Linked DNA regions of Homo sapiens: region 1 is linked to region 2. Evidence: promoter capture Hi-C in 16 types of primary human blood cells and fetal thymus (Javierre and others, 2016). All regions are on one chromosome and are shown on one strand. The core of a region is centred on a gene start or on the middle of the fragment in contact, and the rest is flanking DNA. Distances in the headings are between cores, read along the strand shown. Region 1 overlaps GGCT (gamma-glutamylcyclotransferase). Region 2 holds the start of ZNRF2 (zinc and ring finger 2).

Region 1 (2,793 bases), core at 264-2,763, 210 kb after region 2:
AGTCTAAAAACAAGGAATCACCCAAGTAAGATACTCCTTCAGAGCACTGCTGAAAATGGATCAAACGTGGAGATCCCCCAGATCCCTGTTCTCAAGTGTTAAAAATATTTTATATTAGCACATAGAATACCCTTAGATATATTCTGTTATGTTCTAAAGAGTTTGTGTTTCCCCCTTTTTGATGATGTCTTCAATTTCTTCTGAGACCTTTCCTGTATAGTCATTTGGTTCTATTGCTTTTAACTTCTCTTGATACTCCAGCGGCAAACCATTTTCTTTTGCACCCATGCAAATAATCTGGAAATGGTTAAAACAAACAGACAAAAAAACCCTTTCAGTTAGGAATATAATTTAACGTACCATACCACAGCTTTATTTGCCTTCTCAAAGTATGAAGTATTAGCTTTCAGATAACTCTAGAATAAACAATTATATAAAATAGAATACCATCATTCCTCTCACACTGAGCATGAATGTGTATGGAGTTTTCAAAGCCAAATGAAGCATCCTCATGGAATATCAACTTTCTCAATATATGATTTTAAATATTTTAATATTAAGACAAACATATCTATATAAAATTTATATGACCTTTTAAGAAAAAAAATACCATTCTTCAAAAAAAATTTAAAGTTTACAGAGAGCAGTTTCGGTTACAACGCCAGAGGTTACCCTTGCTCTGAATTGGACATGGGGGAATAAATGGCAACTGTGTTTAGCGGTACTTTCATAATCTATACCAGGCTAATTTCTCTAGGTTTCATACTAAAAAATTCCAAACGAGGCCTAGGAACCAGATTACCTATTACAGGTGCCATGACCTGATTGGGCCTGCCAACAGAGAGCTAAGCTTAGGTTCTGAACAGGAATTTTGGGGTCTCTATCCCACATTCTTGTCTTGTGCTTGCAAGGGTGATTTCCCTGATTCTGAAAGGCAGTGTGACGTTTCTTTCTCCACCTAGGGATGAAAAACATTTCAGCAGTAGAAAGTATGTTTTTTTCCCCTATAAAAATGAATCTTGGTATTCATAAAATACTGTGTTACGGGGAGAAAAACATTACAAAAGCATATATATATATATATAGATACACACACACATATACATATATATACATATATGTATATATATATAGAAAGAGAAAGAGAGAGAGACTAAATCTATTAAAATACACTCATAAATATTCTTTCCTACTTTAATACATGTCTACATCATAAAAATGAAGCAAAAATTTATTGCCAGGCAAAAGAAAGAAAGAAAGAGAGAAAGAAAAAAAGAAAGGGAGAAAATACATGTCTAGAATTCTGACTCACATATATTTCTAAAAATTTTTTTAATAAATAGTTTTAAAAACATAATTCTATCATTACACATAATATTTTTGAATCTGTACATTAGGTAAATAACTATCATTTTTATATTTAAAAACATTTTTATTAAAATAAATGTTTACATGGAATTTAAAACATACAAAACCTTTTATTTCTTTTTTAGAAATTTTTTTGAGAGTGTCTCACTATCACCCAGGCTGGAGTGTGGTGGCCTGATCTCAGCTCACTGCAACCTCCACCTCCTGGGTTCAAGCAATTCTTATGCCTCAGCCTTCCAAGTAGCTGGGATTACAGGTGCTCGCCACCACGGCCTCCTAGTTTTGTATTTTTAGTAGAGATGAGGTTTCACCACGTTGGCTAGGCTGGTCTCAAACTCCTAACTTCAGGTGATCTGCCCGCCCCAGCCTTCCAAAGTGGTGGCATTACAGGCATGAGCCACCACGTTGGGCCTAAAGTCTTTTAAAAACAATATATTCTTTAGTTTCTCTCAGTGAAATTTAAAAAGTAATCACCACCAGTCTGTAAATAGCTTACCTTTTTATACTGTGGGGATGGGGGAGCACTTTCGTAATTTGTCATCAGATAACTTCGACAGGTTATTTCTTTTCCTTCTTGAGTTGCAACTTTAACTTCTATTACAACATACATTCCACTTTTAACCCCTTCTTGCCTGAAACCAGAACAGCCAAATTTTAACCACATTTGACCTAGCCAATTTAGCTCACTGGGTAAGGTCTTTTTATAATAGTCAAGATGGTGTATGGGATTAAACATTTAACTACATCTGAACATACTTGCTCCCTATGTATTTGGGATAGAGAATATATAAATTTACCACATCAAAAGTAAGCTTAGCATTTAGGCTGGGTACGGTGGCTCACATCTGTAATCCCAGCACTTTGGGAGGCTGAGGTGGATCACTTGAGGTCAGGAGTTCAAGACCAGCCTGGCCAACATGGTGAAACGCCATCTCCACTAAAATACAAAAATTAGCCGGGCGTGGTGGTGGGCGCCTATAGTCCCAGCTACTCAATAGGCTGAGGCTAGAGAATCACTTGAACCCGGGAGGTGGAGGTTGCAGTGAGCCGAGATTGCACTGTGGCAATCCAGGCTGGGAGACAGCAAGACTCCATCTCAAAAAGAAAAAAAAAAAGGCCGGGTGCAGTGGCTCACACCTGTAATCCTAGCACTTTGGGAGGCCGAGGTGGGTGGATCATCTGAGGTCAGGAGTTCGAGGCCAGCCTGACCAACATGGAGAAACCTTGTCTCTACTAAAAAAAAAACACACAAAAAATTAGTCCGACATGGTGGTGCATGCCTGTAATCCCAGCTACTCGGGAGGCTGAGGCGGGAGAATCACTGGAACCCGGGAGGCAGAGGTTGGGGTGAGCCGAGATCACGCCATTGCACTCTAGCCTGGGCAACAAGAGCGAGACTCCGTTACAAAAAAAAAAAAGTAAGCT
Region 2 (2,750 bases), core at 167-2,666:
ACTTAACCAAAATGATGACCATATCTTAACATGATACTGCATATAAAGCACTGGGTACCTTTGTTTTTCCATGTATATATGTGTGTTTGTGTACACAGATACACGTCTTTATATGTATACATATATTCTCCATTTGTTTAAAAACTTGATTCCCATACCCTAAGAGTGATGAAAATCATTACATAAATGACTTATTGCAAATAGTGAAAAGATGACAAAGTATTTCTGTAGTTTTATAAAACACCACTTGCTATTATTATTTTCAAGTAGAGACTAGACATTTTCATAATGGGAGTCTCAGAGCAGGCTGTTCCCTGGGTATCCAGACCCTGCTCTGCCGTGAAGAGACCACACCAACACTGAGGAAGGCACTGAGGAGAATTTTATTACATTTTAGAGAAGTTATAGGATTTTAAAGAGGCAGGTGCCCTAGGATTTAACACAAACAGTTCAGGTAAGAAACCTAAAGTCGGCCTGGTGCGGTACGTCACGCCTGTAATCCCAGCACTTTGGAAGGCCGAGGCAGGTGGATCACTTGAGGACAGGAGTTCAAGACTAGCCTGGCCAACATGGTGAAAGACCGTCTCTACTAAAAATACAAAAATTAGCCAGGCGTGGTGGCACGTGCCTGTAATCCCAGCTACTCTGGAGGATGAGGCAGGAGAATCGCTCGAACTCGGGAGGCGGAGGTTGCAGTGAGCCGAGATCACACCATTGCACTCCAGCCTGGGTGACTGAGCGAGACTCCGTCTCAAAAACAAAAACAAAAATAAACCTAAAGTCCAAAAAAGTAAAATAATTTGCTCACTACAGATAATTTAGTTTGGTGTTGGGCCTAGATTCTAGGTTTTGTGAGTCAGGTGCAGCGTTCCTGGCACCACAGTATTTGCCCTACCACAGAGGGTCAACCTGGATTATCCCGAGTTCTTCCAACTCTGCGCTTCCTCCCAGGTTGGTGTTTCATGAGTAAGTCTGAGATCAAGCTGGCTTTTGAGCTTCTGTTTTTTTTTTTAATCAGTGTGTAACACCAACACCCACCGAAACCAAACGGCTCTGGGCAGAGGACACAGCCATTCACGCCCCCTGCCAGGAAAAGCTGCAGCTGACACAGGCTCCTACAGCGTCGGCGGGCCACGTGCGGGAGGAGGGGCCGCCTTCTGGTTGGCGCCCGGTGTCCGTTCCTCCTATCGGCGTAGGCCCCGCGAGGAAGACAAGGGCGCGCCCTGGCTGGGAGGGCGTGGCCAGAGACCTGTCCATCACCGAGTCCACGAGTGGCAGCACCTACCACACCGCAGTACCTTGGCGAGGCGGAGCAGGGGCAGGCAGGTCGCGGAAGGGGGAGGCGGAGCAAGGCCGGCGGGAGCCAATCGGCCTGGCGGCACGAGGGGGCGGGGGCGGGGTCAACGCGCGCGACCCAAACACACGGGCCGGGCGCACCCTGCAGCCGCGCCGCTCCGCGGCCTTCCGGCGCGGGGCCGGGGAACCTCCTCCCCATCTGCGCACCCCCCGCCTTCGCGGCCCAGATCCTCCCGCCAGCCCGGCCCCTCCTTCGCAGGGGGAGCGAGGCGACGGTTGCCGGGAAGCGCGCGCCACCTCTCCCTCCCATTTTTCGTTCTCCCCTCGCGCGCCACCCGTTTTTCCTCTTTCTCCGTTAATAACAGCTGGGTGGCTGGGGGAGGAGGGAAGGTGGCCCCGGCGGAGTCTGGGCGGGCGCCTCCCACTCAGCCGCCAGCCGCCGTGGGAGCCGGAGGATGGCGGCGGTAGCAGCGGCCGCCCGAGAGGAGGCGGTGCCGAGATCGGGGGCGCCGAGCGCGGCAGCAGAGAGCGGTAGCGGCCCGTCGTGGCGCACCAGAACCGAAACCAGCGGCAGCCGCACGGCCACTTGAGCCGCCCCTTCCTGCTGGAGCCAGCGAGGGGTGCCTGCAGCCGGGACCCCTTCCTCTCCGCGTCTCCTCGTCTCCCGCGCCCGCGTCAGGCCGTCGGCCTCGCCCGCCGCCCCAAGAAGAGCGCGCCGGGCGCCGACTGCCCCTCTGGACGCCGGGCGGCGGCCCTGGACGTGCGGGGGCCTCTCTGGGCCGGCCGCGGCGCCTGGGCCCTGCCCTCTAGCTCCCGCGCTCGCTCCCGCCCTCCCGGCTCTCGGGGCGCAGCGCGCGGGCCCGGCCCGGGGCAGGGCGGACATGGGCGCCAAACAGAGCGGCCCGGCCGCCGCTAACGGCCGCACGCGCGCGTACTCGGGCTCGGATCTACCTTCCAGTAGCAGCGGAGGCGCCAATGGGACCGCGGGCGGCGGCGGGGGCGCTCGGGCCGCCGCCGCGGGGAGGTTCCCGGCTCAGGTGCCCAGCGCGCACCAGCCCAGCGCCTCCGGCGGCGCCGCGGCGGCCGCGGCGGCCCCGGCAGCCCCGGCGGCCCCGCGCAGCCGCTCCCTCGGCGGGGCCGTGGGGAGCGTGGCGTCGGGGGCCCGCGCGGCGCAGTCCCCCTTCAGCATCCCGAACAGCAGCAGCGGCCCGTACGGCTCGCAGGACTCGGTGCACAGCAGCCCTGAGGACGGCGGCGGCGGCCGGGACCGGCCGGTGGGCGGGAGCCCCGGCGGGCCGCGCCTGGTGATCGGCTCCTTACCAGCTCACCTCTCGCCGCACATGTTTGGAGGTACGGACCCCTCTCCGCGCACCCGCGCTCGGTCCTCCCGCGGCTGCACGTGGGCCGTGGCCGCCGGCTATTTTTACCCTTCTCCTTTTCTCCTTCTGCCGGGG

The links. Contacts are between HindIII fragments. The CHiCAGO score rates a contact against its expected background, and 5 or more counts as called.
Region 1: a contact is called between a fragment that was not itself captured here and the fragment with the promoter of ZNRF2 in region 2, in 9 of 17 cell types (naive CD8 T cells, total B cells, naive CD4 T cells and 6 more). The highest score is 11.2, in naive CD8 T cells.

Annotation. Positions count from the first base shown.
Region 1 is chr7:30,496,939-30,499,731 of GRCh38, forward strand. GGCT (gamma-glutamylcyclotransferase) reads right to left here. Exons shown (of 4, transcript NM_024051.4): 3 at 1,865-2,000; 4 at 1-297. The coding sequence ends at 154. Among named protein-coding and RNA genes, the nearest start is that of GGCT, 6.5 kb to the right of the region's middle. The HindIII fragment of the contact is 1,330 bases long and covers 849-2,178 here.
Region 2 is chr7:30,283,181-30,285,930 of GRCh38, forward strand. It overlaps ZNRF2 (zinc and ring finger 2), which reads left to right and starts at 1,417. Exons shown (of 5, transcript NM_147128.4): 1 at 1,417-2,646. The coding sequence starts at 2,178. It overlaps LOC124901607 (a long non-coding RNA gene), which reads left to right. Exons shown (of 3, transcript XR_007060274.1): 3 at 1,019-1,074. The region is part of intron 1 of LOC105375218 (a long non-coding RNA gene); the gene reads right to left. RefSeq lists silencers at 1,263-1,692, 1,703-1,752, 1,833-2,222, 2,303-2,382, 2,533-2,662. The HindIII fragment of the contact is 18,269 bases long and covers 1-2,750 here.